2 separate regions of the Homo sapiens genome follow, and region 2 is linked to region 1. Evidence: promoter capture Hi-C in 16 types of primary human blood cells and fetal thymus (Javierre and others, 2016). All regions are on one chromosome and are shown on one strand. Each heading gives the region's core, a stretch centred on a gene start or on the middle of the fragment in contact. The rest is flanking DNA. Distances are from core to core; before and after follow the strand shown.

Region 1 (4,168 bases), core at 537-3,036:
GAGATGAGAGGATTGCTTGAGGTTGAGACTGCAGTGAAGCATGATCATGCCACCGCACTCCAGCCTAGGCAACAGAGCAAGATCTTGTCGCAAAAGAAAGCAAAAACACAACATAACACAACAACAACAACAACAACAACAACAGCAAAAAAGCCAACTTCTTGAAATCTGGAAAGGACACCTGGACTGCCCTGAGCATTTGATTGTTGTTGGCTCTAGCAGTGGATGCATCCTTCAACCTCTGGCACTCTGCAGGGCTCAGACTGTTCTGTTCTGTTTGTTACCTGTGGAGTGCCTGCCAGACCCTGCTCTAGCTGCTTTAGGTCCATTTACCCTCATAGACCCCCAGTCTTGTTATTCATATTTCATATTTGGGAAATGGAAACTTAGAAACTTGCCAAGTCCACAGCATGAGATCCTGCCTCCGGTGTCTGCTGGATTCCAGAAAGTGCCAGGGGCCAACTTAGATGACACCATGTTCTCTGCACAATCTTAGGAATGCTCCTAGTCTGATGTCCCCATTGCAAAATTTACATTATCTTTTAACAAAACGTCTTTCCAAGGAGGGGCATTTAAAATAACTGAGGTTCTTCTTGCTAAGGACGTTCCTGACACAAGAGATAATTTAGCATTTCCTTTTCATTAAAAAGTTTGAAATCCTGTAATTTGTGATAATGTGGATGAACCTAGAGGATGTTAAGTGAAATAAGCCACACACAGATAGACAAATACCACGTGATCTCACTCTTATGTGGAATTTTTTTTTAAATAAGTTGCTTAGCCGGGCATGATGGCACACACCTGTAATCCTAGCTACTCAGGAGGCTGAGGTGGGAGGATGGCTTGAACTCAGAAGGTGGAGGTAGCAGTGAGCTGAGACTGTGCCAGTGCACTCCGGTCTGGGTGACAGAATGAAACCCAATTTAAAAAAAAAAAAAAAGTTGCTATCTTAGAAAAAGACAGTAGAGCAGTGGTTACCAGAGACTGGGGAGGAAAGAGAGGAGGTGAGAATGGGCAGCAGTTGATCAACGGGTACAAAGTTACCATGAGATAGGAGAAACAAGTGCTGGTGCTCTGCTCCAAGTAGGGTGACGGTAGTTAATAATGAATTCTGTATATATAAATAGCTAGAAGAGAGGGTTTTCAATATCATTATTATTTCAAAAGAAATGATAAATGTTTCAGAGGATGGATATGTAATTACCCTGATTTGATCATTGCACAATGTATACATGTAGCAAAACATCACATTGTGTCCCATAAATATATACAATTATTATGTGAATTAAATAAAAAAAAATTTTAAAGTCTTATCTAAATGAAATTTCTAACCAGATTCTGAATCCATGATACCACTGAAACCAGCACACATGATCGCAGTAAAACCTCATTATACTTCCTCCACTATCACCAATACCCTTTATTCTCTGGAACATGAAACATTCTGTTGTGCTCATATCATGCAAATTATCACTAGTAGGAGAGCAGAGAGTGGAAATGTTCCAGGTATAAAGACCCACAAGATAAAGAAGCTCAGAGTCGTTAGAAACAGGAGCAGATGTACAGGGTTTGCCTGACTCACACTCAAGGTTGCATAAGCAAGATTTCAAAATTAATCCTATTCTGGAGACCTCAACCCAATGTACAATGTTCCTGACTGGAAAAGAAGAACTATATTTTTCTGATTTTTTTTTTCAAATCTTTACCATTAGTTGCCCTGTATCTCCGCCTTCACTTTCTGCAGGAAACTTTATTTCCTACTTCTGCATGCCAAGTTTCTACCTCTAGATCTGTTTGGTTCAGTTGCTGAGAAGCCTGACATACCAGGACTGCCTGAGACAAGCCACAAGCTGGTGAGTTGTAGGCATTTTTTCCATTACTTTCTGATTCATAGGCTCAACGCACCTCAAAGCTGGAAATGCCGGGTCTGGGTACACCCTGGGGAACTGCAAAGCCTGCACACTTGGGGGGAATGATCAAGATGAGAGGCAGGGGTGGGGATGGCATGTGCACCAGGAGATGTTAGAGAAACCCTGAGGAAGAGCAGCGTGCAGCAGGTGATGGGGGAGAGTGGGCAGCAAGCGAGGCCAGGACAGCCACTCTGCTCAGTCACCAGTCCACACACCCAGGGGCTCACTCTGCCCCTCTGAGCACCCAAGGACGTTAAAGAGCTGGAACTGTTAGTCTAAATATAGGACCATCCAAGCTCTGAACCAAAATGTGTCCCTTGCCTCAACTCAGGAGATCCACAGAGGCAGAAGTAAGGAATTTATTTTCTGAAAGATAGATTTCTATCAGTTCTGGGTGACATGTTCTGACACTTGAAATGACACCTAGGACAGCACATTTCAGGCATCTTGCTCATTGTTCACTGTAGTAGAAGCTACATGCTAGCCAGTTGTAAAAATGAAATTAAGTAATGTGTGCACAGCATTTAACATAGCATCTGAGCTTCAGGAGCACTCAATTAATGACCACAGTTGTGATTCTTTAGGCAGATGCATTTTTTTCCAACTTTGATCAGAGGTCTTATTTAGCTTCTCCAGATTTCAAGAATCTGGCTCAGTGATATGAAATACAAGACTTGTGAAAAGTGTCAATTGCAAGAGAAATGGAAGGATAAAGTATACAGGTGGGTGGAAAAGAAATTCACAGTCACTGCCAGAAAAAAAATTCTTGAGAATCAAGTCCTGATGATGTTAGGGCTTATAGTTCTTATTATAAAGAGTTTTATGTACTCATTCAGTGAACATTTATTGGTGCCTCCTTTAGCCAGGTACTATCATAAGAGCTGAAAATAGAAGCATAATCCAGTCCTTGATCTTGAGGAACATGCTGTGTGTAGCAGATAACATAATAAGTGCTTATCTAGATGCATGCAGTGTTATGTGATAAGAGTAATATGACAGAGGATACAGATTAGGCTTCACAGAGAAGGGGGATTTGAGCAGGAGGTATTGAAGGGTGAATAGAAGCTCACCAATCATTTTGGGCAGAGGGGCAAGGACCTGCAAAACCACTGAAGCATGAAGGAAATGGTGAGTTTAGGGAAAATGAAGAGAAGATGGCTGTGACTGAAGCACAGGATTTGGGATTGGAGAAGGGACTGGAGGTGAGGCTGAAAAGAGGCAAACTCAGAAAAGATGTTGTGCTGGGCAGTCTGGACATTATCTTTGAAGCCCACCACATATAAGTCATAGGGCTACTGGAGGTTTTAAGCTAAGAGTGACTATTCAATTTCAACTTAAGAGAAGATAGGTTGAGAGGGAACATGGCTTGAGATGAGCCATGAGCAAAGGAAAGACTACAACAAAGCCAGGAGTGAGGAGTGTGTGAAGCAAGAAAGTGACAGTTGAAAGCAGTGCAGAGGGGATGAATCTGAGAGGCATCTATGAGGTGGAACTCAAATGACATGATAATAATACAGGGCATTTCTCTGTGTCAGATGCTGTCCTAAGTCCTTACTCCATTGATCTTCACAGCAACTCAGCATAGTTAATATTTTATGCATAAAGAAATCGGCACTTGAAGGAGTAATTGGCCCCAGATTACACTGCCTATAAGGATTCAAATCCAGGTTTGTTTGGCTCCAAAAACTGGCTCCTAATTTTCAGAAGGAGAAGCAACCCAGGGCAATGCCCAATTTTGCTTCTTAGGCAATGGAGGAATCCACAATCGGAAGGAGTTTTCAGCAGTGCCCCATTTGGGGTGGGTTGAATTTGAGGTCCCTGCATGATACCCACTTTGCTCACTTCAGTGCCTAAAACTGAGTATGGTTCATAGTAGGTGTTCAATAAGTGTTGATGCAGTGAATACATGCATGGGGAGATATGCATCAGGCAATGGGAAATTCAACTCTAAGGCTTAGGGGAAAGCTGGAGCTTGAAGACAGAGCTTTAGAAAACAGTAGCATAGAAGGGAGTAGGAACCATGAGTTTAGACAATACAATTCAGGAAGAACTTTGTAGCAAGGATAAAGAGGCAAAAAATTAAAGAGGTGAGAGCTAAGTGTGGTGCCTGGGGAATCTTAAGGTGTGGGCACGGGGAGGAGATGCCAGCAAAGAACATGAATAAAAAGCGGTAGCACAGCCCCTCCCATCTGGAAGCCAAAAAGAATTGTAAATGGAGGAAGTTAGCAGAAGGATCAAATACTTGAAGAGGGTGGAAT
Region 2 (4,168 bases), core at 746-3,245, 380 kb before region 1:
AGGCTTGTGTGATAACTCTCGTTTAGCAGGAACACTGGAAACGAAACACATTTTTACTTCATCAGAATCATCTCCTAAATCTAAAATTATTGTGTGTTCAAACCTAGTCTCCAAAACCCAGCAACTGCCCTTCACAGTATCTTCCCTGAAGACAGTCACATATGTACATAAGGAGACAGTGGGGATGCTCTTGGCAGCACTGTAACTGGAAAAAGGGAAACCAAACAAACTCTACACTGCTATGGAAAGAGATACACTGTGGCTTATTCACCCAACAGAATTCTCTACACCATGGGTTGGCATTCTTTTTTTTTGAAAAGGGCCAGATAGTAAATATTTTGGTCTTGTGGGCTATATGGTCTCTGTCACTCAACTGGCACTGTTAGCATAAAAGCAGCCATGGACAACAGGTGAGTAAATGGGCAAAGCTGTGTTCCACACAGCCCTCTGGGCTGTGCTTTGCCAACCCAACTCTACACTTACAGAACTCCATGTATAAACAGATACAAAATCTCAAAAACAAGGCAAAATGAAAAAAGCAGGTTGCAAAGGATAGCTATTACATGATTCAACATGTGTAAAATTTTAAAACATTTACAAAATAAAACTATATATATATACATATATAAAATATTTACAAATACACAATTAATAATGAAAGCATAAGATCTGAGAATGAAATGCATTGATTACATGATTACTTCTGAAAGGGGAACAAAGGAGAAAGGATGGCATTGGGGTGGGGCTTTAGCTGATCTATAATATTTTATTTCTTAAAAAAGTATCAGATGTAACCAAACCTCCCCACAAGAGCCAGCTTGAAGGGGGCTCCCCACTGGGGTAATTGGATAAATGGGATAATGTAAGCTTCAAAATAAATAATGACAGTGACAGAATGCAACCTATTGAATAAAATAAGAATCCATGAGTCAATACTGCTATGAATGAATAAATGGGGAAAAAGAAAAAGATCTTCCTTACAGTAGAATGCCAACTAATAATGTAAAAGAAATAATGGAGTTAGAAAATCACTCTGGTAATTATTATGGTAATAACTGCTTCAGGCAAGAATGATCAAATGGTATTAAAACTAATACAGGACAGATTTAAGAGAAAAAAGGATAATAATGTAATTTCAGCATGTCTTCCCATAAGATATATACTCATTACAAAGGAAGAAATAGTAACTTTTGGAGAAACTTGGCAAGCACCGCCTTACCCAAATGACCAGGGTTAACCTCATTAGTAATGAAACAAATCAACACTGTGTGCCTCCAGATACAGTGTGCTGACAAGGACACAACAGGTAAGGTATTCCTGCCAAAAACACTTAACCTAAATCCAATAATGAGGAAACATCAGACAAACTCAAATTAAGGAACATTTTACAAAATAACTGGCCTGTATTTTTCAAAAATGTCAATGTTATGAAAGACAAAGACTGAAAAACTGTTCAAAATTAAAGGGGACTAGAGAGGCATAGCAATTAATGAATTAACAATTAATATGTGATCTGGGATTGGACCTTAGATTATGAGAGACATTACTGAGATAATTTGTAAAATTTAAATGAGATCTGTAAATTAGATAGCAGTATTGTATCAATGCTAATTTTCTGATTTTAATAACTGTACTGAGTTATATAACAGGATGTCCTTGATTTTAGAAAATACACAATTAAGTACTTAAGAGAAAAGAGGATCAAGTCTGTAATTTACTCTCAAAAGGCTTAGGAAATAAATCAACATGTAAATAGAAAAAATGATGAACAATTATAGTAAAATATCGATAACTAGGGAATCAGGGTGAAGGATAGATGAGTACTTTGTACTATTTTTGCAACTTTTCTGTAATTCTGAAATTATTTCAAAATGTAAAAGTTTTAAAAAGAGTATCTGGGCCAGGCGTGGTGGCTCACACCTGTAATCCCAGCAGTTTGGAAGGCCAAGATAGGAGGATAGCTTGAGCCCAGGAGTTCAAACCAGCTTGGGAGAGATGGCAAGACTCCGTCCCTACAAAAAATAAAAATAAAAAAAGGACATCTGAATATGGCAAAATTAAATCCTAGTGGTTTGCATGTGACTATCATAGTCACCACTTTTCTCTATACATGAAGTATTTCCTAATAAAAAATATGAATGTTAAATTTTAAAAGCCTTATAAACAGAAAGCAAAACAAAACAAAGAACACTGGACTTGATTTTAACCCAAGTCAGGTGTCCCAGGCCTGCTGCCCACCAGCTAGGTGACTTTGTCAAGTCCCCTGATCCTCTGAGCCTGTTCCTCACACCTCCTTCTTGGAGCTCATGTAAGGACTCTGGTGGTATGTGAGTGCCACACTGGTGTAAGATATGGCTGGCTTGATGGCCTCAGAAAAGAAAAAAAGAAGAAACAAAAATGCAGCAACCTTTCCTGCAACCCTTATGTGGACAAGCTGTGGCTTTCACTTCCTCTCCTACTGCTTAGGAGCCTTCTGTAATAACTCCATAAGAACAGGCACGGGAAAAAGCCCACTCCTCCCCCAATGCCCGTAACAACAAGTGCCTTAAAAAAATTTTAAAGCCTTGGCTTTTGCAATACACATCTCCACTGACTCATGCCCTGGCCAGTTAAGTTGGTTTAAGGTTGGAGCCTTCAGATGTTATTGTTAGTCATGATTCAACAAAGTCTGTAAAAGGAGCTGGAATAAGAGTTGAACAGGTTTGTGTAATTTACTGAGCAAGCAAAATTGTTTTGAGTAGACTGGTGGCAATCTTCAAAACTTCAAATGTCTCTTTTCCTGTCTTTTAAACCAAGCAATCCTTCAAAGTACCTGGCAAATGTTGGCCAGGCAGCATCCAAGTCAAAGCCCCTCGACGCCAGGTCAAACTGAACCTCAGTCAGCTCATAGAGTTGGCCCACAATGTCCGAGCTCAGCTTTGGCTGCAGAAAGGGGCTTCTTGCATAGTACCAGTCACTGCAGAAAAACATGTCAATTATAAGAGTAATAAAGATAAAGTATGAATTTACTCAGTCCTCCCACTGTGGCTCTGCCTCATCGAATTCCAACTCAGGTTACTAAATTAAAAGACACAGGCACACAAACCAATTTCATTTTCATGGTAGAAGAACATAACTCTCAAATAAGCTTGCTCTTCTTCAAAGAAATTACTGCAATGATCTGGATGCTTATTCATTTATTATATATATCATATCTACTTCTCAAAAAGGATATGGGAAACCTTAAACATCAATTATTTGCCAAGAAAGGGGAATTGTAGGAGAAAGAAAACTTCTTTTTTGAAAGATTACTACCTATTCCATTTTCAGAACTCAATATGGGACACTAAACTCACTGCTAATTTCTGTCCAGATACCAATTTAAAAGCCAAGGAACAAACTATTCAGAAATGGTTCAGCACCGTAAGACAGGGTGAGAAAAAATAAAATAAATGTTATCTGCATTTTGAGGTAGTGGTTGTTTCATTTCAGGCAAAGTAACAAGAATTTTAAAAAGATGCATCAGAACACAGTCGCTCATGCCTGTAATCCCAACACTTTGGGAAGCTGAGGCAGGAGGATAGCTTGAACCCAGGAGTTTGAGGCCAGGGTGGGCAACATGGCAATATCCCATCTCTACCAAAAAAACACAAAAAATTAGCTGAGCATGGTGGCATGTACCTGTAGTCCCAGCTTCTCAAGAGGCTGAGGCAGGAGGATTGCTTGAACCCAGGAGGTAGAGGCCACAGTAAGCCATGATCATGCCACTGCACTCCAGCCTGTGTGACAGGTTAAGACTACCCCAACCCCCTACCCCAACCCTTGCCCAAAATGAAAAAGATGCCTGGGCATAGTGGCTCACACCTGTAATCCTAGCACTTTGGGAGGCCTAGGCAGGGGGTTCACTTGAGCCCAGGAATTTGAGGCCAAGCTGGGCAACATAGTGAGACCCTGTCTATATAAAAAGTAAAAAATTAGCCAGACACAGTGGTAAATGCCTATCCAGCTACTCGAAGGCTGAGGTAAGAAGATCACTTGAGCCCAGCAGCTTGAGGTTACAGTGTGCTATGATCGTGCCACTGCACTCCCGCGTGGGCAAAAAAGTGGGACATTATTGTCTGTGAACTGTGCGATCTTCACCAAACATCTAAAACAAAATAACCTTCAAATCAAATATGCAAACTTTTTC

Evidence for each region. The method cuts DNA at HindIII sites, captures the fragments that hold promoters and counts their contacts. A CHiCAGO score of 5 or more calls a contact.
Region 2: a contact is called between a fragment that was not itself captured here and the fragment with the promoter of CCR2 in region 1, in 2 of 17 cell types (naive B cells and monocytes). The highest score is 5.5, in naive B cells.

Annotation. Positions count from the first base shown.
Region 1 is chr3:46,352,325-46,356,492 of GRCh38, forward strand. It overlaps CCR2 (C-C motif chemokine receptor 2), which reads left to right and starts at 1,787. Exons shown (of 2, transcript NM_001123396.4): 1 at 1,787-1,853. The HindIII fragment of the contact is 10,451 bases long and covers 1-4,168 here.
Region 2 is chr3:45,970,276-45,974,443 of GRCh38, forward strand. It overlaps FYCO1 (FYVE and coiled-coil domain autophagy adaptor 1), which reads right to left. Exons shown (of 18, transcript NM_024513.4): 6 at 2,813-2,956. Among named protein-coding and RNA genes, the nearest start is that of FYCO1, 23 kb to the right of the region's middle. The HindIII fragment of the contact is 2,260 bases long and covers 866-3,125 here.